Linked DNA regions of Homo sapiens: region 2 is linked to region 1. The links are contacts of gene promoters, found by promoter capture Hi-C in blood cells and fetal thymus (Javierre and others, 2016). All regions are on one chromosome and are shown on one strand. The core of a region is centred on a gene start or on the middle of the fragment in contact, and the rest is flanking DNA. Distances in the headings are between cores, read along the strand shown. Region 1 holds the start of ASAP2 (ArfGAP with SH3 domain, ankyrin repeat and PH domain 2). Region 2 overlaps ASAP2 (ArfGAP with SH3 domain, ankyrin repeat and PH domain 2).

Evidence for each region. Contacts are between HindIII fragments. The CHiCAGO score rates a contact against its expected background, and 5 or more counts as called.
Region 2: a fragment that was not itself captured here is called in contact with the fragment with the promoter of ASAP2 in region 1 in 2 of 17 cell types (endothelial precursors and megakaryocytes); the score reaches 7.0 in endothelial precursors.

The regions. Positions count from the first base shown.
Region 1 is chr2:9,205,223-9,211,101 of GRCh38, reverse strand. It overlaps ASAP2 (ArfGAP with SH3 domain, ankyrin repeat and PH domain 2), which reads right to left and starts at 4,290. Exons shown (of 28, transcript NM_003887.3): 1 at 3,872-4,290. The coding sequence starts at 3,997. RefSeq lists enhancers at 3,278-4,208, 4,209-5,141 and silencers at 4,571-4,754, 4,501-4,760. The HindIII fragment of the contact is 2,916 bases long and covers 3,086-5,879 here.
Region 2 is chr2:9,295,491-9,301,602 of GRCh38, reverse strand. ASAP2 (ArfGAP with SH3 domain, ankyrin repeat and PH domain 2) reads right to left here. Exons shown (of 28, transcript NM_003887.3): 3 at 4,158-4,303. Among named protein-coding and RNA genes, the nearest start is that of ASAP2, 92 kb to the right of the region's middle. RefSeq lists an enhancer at 1,452-1,951. The HindIII fragment of the contact is 1,474 bases long and covers 2,341-3,814 here.

The DNA of each region.
Region 1 (5,879 bases), core at 3,041-5,540:
CTCACCGCAACCTCTACCTCTTGGGTTCAAGTGATTCTCCTGCCTCAGCCTCCCAAGTAGCTGGGATTACAGGCATGCGCCACCACACCCAGCTAATTTTGTATTTTTAGTAGAGACAGGGTTTCTCCATGTTGGTCAGGCTGGTTTCGAACTCCTGACCCCAAGTGATCTGCCCGCCTTGGCCTCCCAAACTGCTGGGATTACAGGCGTGAGCCACCGCACCTGGCCTGACAACAAACTTTTAAAAAATACACATGGGTCACCTGTAATCCCAGCACTTTGGGAGGCCAAGGCGGGCGGATCACAAGGTCAGGAGATCTAGACCATCGACCATCCTGGCTAACACGGTGAAACCCCATCTCTACTAAAAATACAGAAAATTAGCCGGGCATGGTGGCGGGCACCTGTAGTCCCAGCTACTCGGGAGGCTGAGGCAGGAGAATGGCATGAACCTGGGAGGCGGGGCTTGCAGTGAGTGGGGATCGAGCCACTGCACTCCAGCCTGGGCGACAGAGCGAGACTCCATCTCAAAAAAAAAAACACATGGGTTAACAGATACACGGTAGTGTTTCATTCACTCACCCATTCAGCCATTCATCCATTTCCCTGACACTTCCCCCCATGTAAATCCCATCCTCACTCCAAAAGCCCTCACTGGGGCCTGTGGACTCACTAACTATATAATCTGGTAACTAATTGTCTGGCAGCTTCTGTGCTATGTACTATCTTCCTAAACCCTCACCACAATCCTCTGAAGTTGATAGGTATTATTAACCAGACTTTAAAGCTGAGGAAAATAAGAAAATGTTAGGCATCTCACTCAAGTTCACTCAGCTGGCAAGCTGTAGAGCCTGAACTTGAACCCAGGTCAATCTGACAAAGGAGTAATTTAGAGAATTCGGCATTAAGAAAAGTAACAGGAAGCAGCATGGTTTCTGAAAACAGCAGGAGCCAAGTTCAAAGTCCACTTCAGAGCTCTATAACCTTTGGCAAATTACTTAACCTCTCTGAGCCTCAATTTCCTCGCCTATAAAGCAGAGATAAGGACTGAATTCAATACCTGTGAGTTTCATAGTACAGGATAAGGGCCCAACAGTTACTATAATAATATTCCAGCAACAAGTATGCAAATCAAAACAGCACATTTTAATTGTAAAATGATTCTTTGGCAGATAGAACCTACATTGGAAATAACAGATTCAAAAAGGTTAATCAGTTTAAAATTAGTTTGCTGGCCGGGTGTGGTGGCTCACGCCTGTAATCCCAGCACTGTGGGAGGCTGAGGCAGGTGGATCACCTGAGGTCAGGAGTTCGAGACCAGCCTGACCAACATGGTGAAACCCCATCTCTACTAAATACAAAAAATTAGCTGTGCATGGTGGCGCATGCCTGTAATCCCAGCTACTTGGGAGGCTGAGGCAGGAGAATCGCTTGAACCTGGGAGGCAGAGGATGCAGTGAGCCAAGATTGTGCCATTGCACTCCAGCCTGGGCAACAAGAGCAAAACTCCGTAACAAATAAATAAATAAATATAAAATTAGTTTGCTAGTTCCGTGATTCATTTGTTTAAACATAAGACCAAGAGCTTGCAAATTTTATTTATTTGTTAAATGAGTAACTTTATGTCATGATACCCTCTCATGTTTCGTCTCAGTATGAGAAGATTTTTGTTTAAAACCAAAATACTGTACACATCAATTGTTATTAAACCATACATAGAACAAGTTTTGGTAATAGACACGAACATTAGACACCTGGGAAAGAGCATTATTTAAAGAAATCCACATTGATTTACCTCAGAAAGTGAACAACTTTCAAATTTAGTTATAAAACCAAGCTCACACATACCATCATCATAGCATGTATGTAGATTTGCTTAAAGTGAAATAAACCTGAAATGATTTTAATTTTTCCATTTTGAGACTTGAACCAATTCTTGGGCTTAGACGGCAGCATGAAGCAAGCTTGCAATTTAATGAAATGACCAAATCCAGTCTCTTTGTAATCTGCTCAGTAACTGAGCTCTAGGGTAATCTCCTGCACAGCATACAAAAAGAGCTTTGGAATTATACACTGTAAACTAAAATTAATCAGAGAAAGGTATGCCAATTTTAATAGCAATTCTTGTTTGCTTGGCTTTCCAACATCTGCCAGTGTTAATAATATTTAACTGACAAACTGCAGTGGGGAAAAGCAACAGAACTTTAAACATAATCAAGCTTTCTAAAGAAAGACATCATGCACAATGCTTCCTTCCCTTAAGAAATATTCAGCTACCTTTTTGGTTGCAATCATTCCATAAACATTATTAATGGTGTATTCTCAAAACACCGTGCTTTTTAACTGGCACTTAGGAAAAAATTTCATTCACCCATCCCCATCTGCCTCATTTGAAGGCATCATCTGTAAGCCTTGCTGCTAAAAGTAGAATTAAGTGATCTGGGGAATCACCGAATTCATAGGAAAGGTTTACATGCAGCTCTCTTCCGCCAAATTAAATGGAGAGAAGGAAGGCTACCCAAGTTATATTAACAGGATTCAGAATGCTGAATGTTACTTTTGACTCCCTTTTATTGACTGTTTACAGCTACAAAGAAAAAATTTTTCCATTAAGGGAAAACATTCTGGATTTTTTTTCAAGCAATTCCTAATAGCAGATGCTTTGTTCAAATGGGAAAAAAAAAAAAAAACCAGAAAAAAAAAATAACGCCATTGCTTCATTTAAAGCTCTTTGGTGACACCCACCCCCCCACCCACACACACACTCCTGCTAGCCCAGGCGTCTTCTGCTAAAACACCTGCAATACCCAATTTTAAAACTGTAACCTGACATCCTGGCCCAGAGACATTTAATCACAGATTCACTATTGCCACACGTGTGACTTGTAAACCTATTCTGAGCCGAGCAGAGTGCTAAGCACTTCACACAGTCTCTGATCCTGGAAAGGATGCATTACTAATCCCGTTTGATGGGTAAGGAAAAGGAGGACTGCAGGTGAGGATGTGCCTCAAACCACAGCCAACGGTGGCCCCTGGACTCACAGACTCTGCCCCTTTCCCCACGGCTTTAATTTTCAACCAAGCTTCTTCGTTCCTACGTGTTCCTCTCCCCAGGACCTGGAGAGCGTACTGCTTAGCAGCTAGGCGTGATGACTTTGCACCTTGAGAGCACTTTACTAAAACCAGGCCTTTTCCAGGTTGAGGGGGAAGGGCGGCATTCCGGGTTCAAGCAGGTGAGACCCAGGTAACCGGGGAGCGGCTCCTGGAGGCTTCTTGGACCCAGAAGCGCCGACTCTCACACACCTTGCCCGCAGTTCCTTCTCCGGGCACGGGTGGAGCGCAGCCAGGCCGCCCTGGCTGAGGCGGGCACGCCTTCCCGGGCAGCCCGGGATGCCCCGGACCCGCGGACCCGAGGGTGGGGGCCCTGCGGCGCTCGGGGGCTGCGGCGGGGAGCTCGGAGCGCGGAGCTGCCCCCGCCGGTCCACTTCAAGAACAAGTTGATAAGGTCCGCACCGGGTACCAAAGACCCCGGGCGGCGGCGGGCGGCGGCGGGCAGCGGGATCCCCCGCTCGCCGCGGACCCCGACTCTGGACAAAGTTGGCCGCGCTGCGGGGAAAAGACCAGGCCGCGGAACCCCGCGAGGGCCACGAGGCCGAGAGAGGGGAGGTCTTAAAGAGGCCCAAGGTGGCCATCACCCATCTCCTCCGAGCCACCTAGGCGGGAACAAAGGGCTTCTGTCTCGGGCAGGGTTGGCCCGGCCGCGTCCGGCTTCGGAGCAAAGAAAGTTTTCTCGGGATGCGGATGCGGGAGCGGCGGGCGGGGCTGGGGCGCGGGATACCTGCGGCCGGAGCCGCCGCGCAGGCCGCCTCACCTCCTCGATGGCCGCCACAGTGTTCCGGCACTGCGCCGTGCGGGTGGTGAAGCTGGAGGCCGTGGGCGCCTTGTAGTCCTCATGGGTCTCGGCCACGAATTCCGACACGGAGATCTGGTCCGGCATCGCCTCGGCGCGAGGGCGCTGGCGCACAGCCGCAGGGGCGCCGCCGCCTCAACTGCCGCAGCAGGCTCCGACCGCCGCTCGGACACCGCCGCTGCCGCCGCCGCTCCGGCCCGCGGACAAAGGGGAGCGCCGGGCGCGGGAGCCGCGCGGGGCCTGGCGGCGGAGCAGGGGCGGCGCGCAGCCCCGCGCAGCTCGGCCGGTCCGCCCGCCTGCGCGCCGAGGGCTCCGAGTCCGCTGCCGCCGCGTCCTCTCAGAGCGAGCCCCGAGGCGGGCGCGCACAGCCGGCGGGAACTACCCGCCACCCAGCCGCGGGCCCCGACGCCTCCCGCGGAGAGGGGCGGGTCCGGGCCGGGGGCGGCGGCCGGCCGGGCGTGGGGCGGGGCGGCGGGAGGACCGGGCCGCCAATCGGCGCGCTCGCCGCTGCCGCGCCGCCGGGAAGCGGATCCCGCAGGAAGGAAGGCGGCGCGCGCCCCGGCCCGCCGAGCCGTTCCTGGCCGCCGCGCGCCGCATTGTCTCGGCGTTCCGGGCCCCGCGCGCCGCGCCCATGCCCCGCCCCCAGCCGGCCCGAGGCCCCGACTCCGACCCGCTGCCCGCGAGGGTGCGTGTGGAGGTGCGCCCCGCCGGAGTCCGGCCTTGTGCGCGCCAACCGCCCCCCGCCCACGGCGCGGAGCACCTCTGGGCTCCCCACTTGAACGGCGGGCCGCGCCGGCCCATGAGGAAAGCGGGGTGCGGAGCTCGCCCCCTGCCGGAGGATGCGCTCCGCCGGCGGGCACCCTGCGGGGACCACAGCCGGACGCCAGAAGTGACCTGACCGTGAATGTGCGCTTTGCGTGCAGTCATTGCATCGTCGCAGGCCTAGGAGACAGATGAAGAGATGGGTGCTTATTTTATATAGGGGACACAGTGTGCCCAAGAGCACAAGATAAACGGCCGGGTGGGGATTCAAACCCATGTTCCCTGACTCAAGTGTGAGTGCTTCAGAGCGGTGAGGGGCCCCTACTAAAAGTCCCAGTCGCGTTTCCTAGGCTGCCCAATGATAGGTATTCTCGGTTATAGTTTTAGGGTACTAGGCCAGGACCCACCCTGGGAAGGCTGCTGAACGCCCTGAAGTGGTATTCCCGCAGGCAGAGGAGGGAACCGAGGGGGTGCAGGAGGAGGAGGAGGGGGAGAACGTGCTACAGCAGCCAGCCAACCTCACACAAAACCGGGCCAGTAAAGGGTTCGAACTGGTACCGATTTTTATTTACAGCTCTTAAGGAAATTCTCGGTTATACTGAAAAATCCAGAAGCTCTGAAGATACCAGTCAAATAAAATCACACCCTATAACTCTACACCAGACTTGTGGCATGGTTTCTGTAGCTGCCAGCGGTAAAACCAAGAGAAACTTTACAAAAACCTTTTGTGCATCTGAAAAGGAGGAAGTGTGAGAGACACTGGAAATTCAATATGTCAGACAAAGCCGTCTCCTGACACTGCAGGACAGTAGACCAGTCAAACAATCTTTTTAAAGCCCCCATGTAAGAAGTTGCTATATGAGGTGGCAGCTTGGGTCAGACATTATGTATGGCCTTTGGTATTTTAGTAGCACTGCATGTAAAATTTAACTTTCTAAAATCGCTGTATTCGTGGATAGCTTTTATCATTGCACTAGACAACAAGTTACAATTTAAAAATTGTATCTGTTTCTTTTTATGTTTTTTGATCCTTTTGGTGTCTGAAGTTTTCCTCTATTTGCAACCTTCTACAATTCATGTTTTGTGTTTATTATTTATATTAATACATCCTCTCCAACACCAGGCAGATTCTGTTCCCGCCTACCTAGTTTCCCAGCTACAGTTTTTGACATGAGGGAATATGCTGAATAACTTTTCAAGTCTTGAT
Region 2 (6,112 bases), core at 1,828-4,327, 92 kb before region 1:
GAGACAGAGACTACATATCTGTAACAAACCTTTCAGAAACCTGCCCTGAAATGCAGCCTTTCATTAGAAAGCCACTTCTCAGCACAGAGGTGGCCCTTGGAGTCTTTCCAGGATTCTCACATCCATTGGGGAAGAGGAAAAGAACCCCTGAAACTAGGCTGACTTCATAAGCACTTTAATTTCACACATGTCACATTTCTGGAGCCGTCTGGTTTTCCCTTTCATCCTGCATCACCGCAGAGAAAATTCACAGACTTCTGCAGGTGAGAATCTCACCCATTAGTAAGAAAATCTTGCTTTATATTAAGCTGGCATTTCTCTGGAGATCTTCCAACTGCTTTATAAACATTCTTTCACGCCTCCAAGCAGGTAGGTGGTAATTGTTATTCTTTCTGGACAAGAGGTAGCACTGTGAGTCTTAGCCAGACAGAACTGAAATGTTTTAAATGCCCGAGGGAAAGCAAAAGCAAGGCTTGGAAGATATGAGATAAGCCAGATGTGACCAAAAACAGGAAGAAGAATGGTGCACAAAATTCCAAAAAAGGAGACTTCCGCCATAATCCGCTCCCCATTTGCCCAGCTTTGCAGGAGCCGCCACTGGGCCTTCCTCTGGCTGTGCAGCTTCCACACCGGCGCTGGCCTGGAAAACCAGGCATGGTGAGTGCTAATTTTGGCTCATGTAAGAAATTTTCTCTCTCTTTGATCTTTGCCAGGAAATAGGATCAACAATCCGACTTCCATAAAGTGCAAGTTGAAACTTGAACCCTTATGATCAGTCAAGAAGGTGACAAGAGGCCATGGTTCCTTTAAATGTCACAATGACAACAACTTGGGTTTGGAGTGTTAATACCTGGGTTTGAATCCCAACTCTGTCCCTCACTAGCTAAGGGCCCTGTAAGTGACTGTGTGCCTTAAGAGGATGGTGATACAAACTATCCTGCACAGCTGCCAAGAGGAATAAATGAAACAGAGTATCCTTCATGCATAGCCCAGTGATTGCTACACCGGTGGGTGCTCATCAAATCACTGCCACAGATACCTTTATTGATACCTTTACTCTCTGTAGAAAGCTGGACAGCAACTAGGACCTGCAGTGATATGTGAAGTATTAAAAACTGGCAAAGCCACAGGGTGGTGAGCAATGTACCAGCTGTAACATGCAGGCCCTGCTCTGCTTTCTGCTTTTGCAGGAAATTTTATAAAGGAGAAGGAGGGATTCCTTTTATTTAACTATGCAGCTGCCCTTTTGTTAACTGAGACAAGTTAGTTTCGTCCGGATTCCATGGTGTGGAGTGCTCCAAGTGGGCCTGCCTAGGCAAGGACTCTGAGCCTCCCAAGAGAGATATTAGCTGCTGCTTCTTTTGTTTTTGAGACAGGGTCTCACTCTCTGTCGCCCAGGTGGAGTACAGGGGCGTGATGTCAGCTCACTGCAATCTCCGCTTCCTGGGCTTAAGCAATTCTTCAGCCTCAGCCTCCCGAGTAGCAGGGACTACAGCCGTGAGCCACCACGCCTGGCTAAGTTTTGTATTTTTTTGTAGAAACAGGGGTTCCCCATGTTGCCCAGGCTGGTCTTGAACTCCTGGGTTCAAAGCAACCCGCCCACCTTGGCCTCCCAAAGTGCTGGGATGACACATGTGAGCCACTGTGCCGGGCCAGATATTAGCTCTTCAAACCATTCAGGGCCTCAGTTATCTAATCTGTAAAGTGGGGATGACATTGACTGACCTTATGGGATTGTCATAAGAATTAAGTAAGCTATCCTGTGTAAGAGTCACCGGCTGGCTATAATCTATCCACACAATCAGGTATGGTATTATTATCTCCATGTTACAGCTGAGACAATCCAGGTCTAGATATCAGCTGAATAAAGGTAAAAGGGCAGTCTGGGAGTGAGAAGCAGAACCCGGGCCTCCACCCGTCTCCTACGTCGTCAGCCGTCCTGGGCTGGCTGCTTTCTAGGCCCCCTGCTTGGCAGCCCCGCTGGGACTTCCCTTCGCCATGATCCTCTTGGAATTCCCTTCCACTGCTTGCTTTCCTGTGTTGGGTCCTGTTTCCTGACTCTCAATTTCTTCTTTCTTGGCTTTTCCCTTCATTTTACTAAAACACATCCTTTAGGAGTTTCAGAGAAATGACACATGGGAGCCAAAGTTTTTAAGCCTTGCATGTCTGAAAATATCTTTAATTCTACTCTCGTCTTTGATTGGCTGGGCATCATTCCAGGCTGAGTTAGTTTCCTCACGATTTTAATGGCATTGCTCCATGCCATAACGTTTCCAGTGCTGCTGCTGAGAAGTTCACCACCATTCTGATTCTGAATCCTCCGGCTGCTGTCTGGAAGCTTTTAAGATCTTTTGCAAGTTCACACAGGGATGCCTCAGGGTAGGTCTTTTCCCTTATTGCGCTGGGTACTTGTGAGCCTCTCAACTTGGAGACTCTTCCGTTCCATTTTTAGAAATTGCCTTTAGATTTGTTGCATTGATGACAACCTTCTCTCTTTCTAAAACACCTGCCAGTTGGATGCTGGGCCTTGAGAATTAATCCTCGTCTTTTATCTATTTCCCACTTTTTGGTCTTTTTGATCTATTTTCTGAGAGATTTCCTCTACTCCAGCCCTTCCTGTTGGATTTTTAATGTTATATTTTCTTACCATAGTTGTGTCCCTGGCCTTCTTTCATAGCATGCTGCATCCCAGTCTTCCCGTACGTTCATTTTTCTGCTATTTCTGGTCTCCCTCATGCTGGAGGCTGCTCATCTGTACTGAAGTGTGAGGCACCAGGAAGCTAACAGGCAGCTCTGTGTGCATGGAAAGGGCTTATCCACCCAGGTGCGGGGAGAGCAGGCAGCCAACTGACTTTTCTACCAGGAGACGCCCTCCATGGCAGCATCTACGGATCTTTACCCTGGGCCCATGCAGTTTCTCCAGTTTAAAAAAAATCTCCACTCTTTCCCGACCTGGTGATGAGACCCCACCATGCATGCCTGCCAGTGTCCAGGGCATGGGGCTGAGGCAGGGCGAGGGCTCCACTGCTGAGCAGGTGGGCCGCCACTCTAGGATAAGGATGAAGGGGGATGAGCTTGACCAAAGCCCCAGGGGATTTCAAATTCCTCTAAGTGAAAAGCTCGAGCAGAGAAACAGTTTTTTACTTTTACCATTTCCTACAGAAATGTTCATAAGTGAAGACGGGGAGAAAGAGCAAGGGCCCGAGTGCTCCTGCTCTTCCCCTTCCCATTAGGAACTCACATGTGATGCTCCCTCATTTCTCCCCTTCTAAGGCCGGTCTCCCAAAACCACTGTCATCACCATCTCAGGAATGAGCTATGTTTTTCACTTGTTATGAGCTTCCTAACAGAGGACACGAAAAAGATGCTGTTGTGTGTGGCCTACAGAGAAAGCATTACTGAGTTCTTGACCTGGCCTTCCCTGACCTTTAGGAGAAACTGGAGAAGAAAAACAGGAAAGAAAAGCTGGAGCGATCCCAGGGTCCATTCCACCCGGGCAGGGTCCCAAACAGCCCTCTTGGGCTGCCCACTTCTTCAAAATGTTGTCCCCATCACGAGGATAGCACAGAGCTGCCAGGCACAAGAAAGGCGCAATTCACCCACAGCACCAAGCAGCAGCCACAGGCAGCAGGCACCAGCACCGCATTCCCACGGCTGAAAACCGAGGCATTGCTCTCAGTCCTGCTTTTTTTTAGGTTCTACACTTGGGAGCACAAAAGGCCTTTAAATATTCATGGTAATTTCTGTGCTTTGATTACAGGTTACCTTGCTGTGTAAGATGGGCCTGAAACATATTTATTAAATATTATAAGCTTAAATGCCTACTATAATTACCAGAAGGAGAGTAGTCTACACAGTTTAGAAACTGTTAAAAATTCAAGTCAGAGGCCCTTAAGAAGACGAATGCATTTACCCATTTTGTCCCATAGCTGTGTACATTTAAATTGCAGAGCTGAATTTTAAGTCTTGTTAAAGTAAAAATTACAATTTTAAACTTTATTCCAAACTGACCCAATGTGTATAAAAACATAATTCTTTTGGGTACCCAAGGAACTATGAAATGCATTCCTAGTTTATCAAACAAACCATAACTATCCTCTACTGAGCCACTTTCCCAACTGAAGTAACCGCAGCATTTCATACACAGAGCTGCTTACCAGGTTTTTGAAAAGTGCTGTCAACTCCTTTGTAAACACTGAGAACTTCAGGAACGCACTTCCTAAATCTGGGTCATCTCTGCATACACAGTTGCCGCCAAACTTCTCCAGAGCCTGGGTGTACTGCTCTTCATTTTCCACGTGAGCTGCAACAGAATGACGGAGGTGCTGTGAGTCTCAGGCATGCCACCCTCACTCCCCACCAGGTTCTTCTCGGTTGTGAATAACACTGAACACATCAGCAGAAGAAAAATCTGAGAAAAGTCAAGCTGCACCAGGAACAGAAATAGCTTCGTTATCCCAACAACAACCCGTGGTGCCGGCAACAGATCCCAAAGAACAAGTGTGGTATGCAAGAGGGGAAGCCCTTGCCCACGTCCAGTGGTCCTCAGCATATCAGATGAGATGGCCAAGGACACACAACATTTCCACCTCTCCGAGGACTCTTCCTTCACCAAATGATGGCACAACTCACCAGACTCAGCCCCCTCCCAGAAACTCAACCACAGATGCCCCATTCCTCTCTAGCCTGCAGCCCAGGACTCTGATTCAGAGCCCCACACAGCAGCTCCTTCTCCTTTTAATACAGCAACAGCAGTGGTCTTTGCAGCTCCAGTGCCTCTGCTCAGGATGCAGCCTCTACCCAGGGGCCCTTCCCTCCCAAACTCCTCTGCATCCTACAGACTCATGCTTCCTCCAGGAAGCCTTCCATGACTCTGCCCTACACCCTGGGTATTTCATTGGCACCTCTCCTATCCTTGCACTCAGCATGTTATATTGAAATAGTCTGGCAAATGTGTTCCCCATACATCGGATGTGCTTAGAGTTGACAGACTAAGTTGTATTCATCTTCGACGAAGTCGTGTGCCTGAAATATTAGACAACACACATGTTGTTTGAGCAGAAAAAACATACCAGGTGCTTACATCTCATGGCATTTTACTATCATTAGGCCTCAAAGTAGCACCTGAAAGAGTGAAAATCTGGACTCTGGGTCTCTGGCACAGTGGTTCTCAATCCCTGCTGGACGCCAAATGCATGCATGGATTTTCACCAAACTCTAGACACCACCGTCCCATCTCAGACCTCTGATTTAAACCGTGGGTAGGAATGGGGGAGGGGACACAGGTGATTCTGGTAAATTAATGTGGTTGAATATAATTCCCTCACTTCTAGGTCAGGCACTTTCAAAGGAAACCAGCCAGTCTATAATAAAACAACTTCTATCTGCATGGCTACCTAATTTCTATGTTTTCATCAGTTCAACTGGAAATATAACACAACTATTTACAGGCACAACAGGGCAGCCAGACCTGCGGTGTGAACCTGGATGTGAACTCCACCAGAGACAGCCTTAGTGCTGCAGCTCCTCCACCAAGGGACAGATCCTGAAAGCCCCTCTGTAGCTCCCGAATTCCTTCTCGGGGAAATGAGACCACTGTCAGCTAACGCCAATGGCTAGGCTGGGCCTGACAATGTGGGAAAACGAGGGAACATTTGTTCCTGGAGGGCAGTCCTGGACCCTGAGCCAATCCCTATGACCTATGAATGGTCTGCTCACCCATCCTATGGGGGAAGCACCATGTCTTTGACCTCCAGTGGCATTTGGGGGACTAGAGGGTTCTAATGGGGATCTAGCAGACACAAAAGAAAACTCACTTCACTGTTTGAGTCCTTTTTCTTTTTTAACATTCCAGTAAAGAGCCTGAGAGTTCTAGATAAATTAAATGAATTTCTGAGACCAGATTCAGCAAACAAATTCTGACAGAAACATACATGTGCACACACACACACCCGCAAACGCAGCTCCTCAGGAGCCCTCAGAAGATCTAGGTTCCAGTCCTATGTCCACCTGTAAATATCTGTATGACCTTGGTAAGTCACAGTGACGCTGGGCCTGCGGCGTCAGCTACATAAAGGATAAAAACCTGCTGGGAGATGCTCTCAAGGTCAGA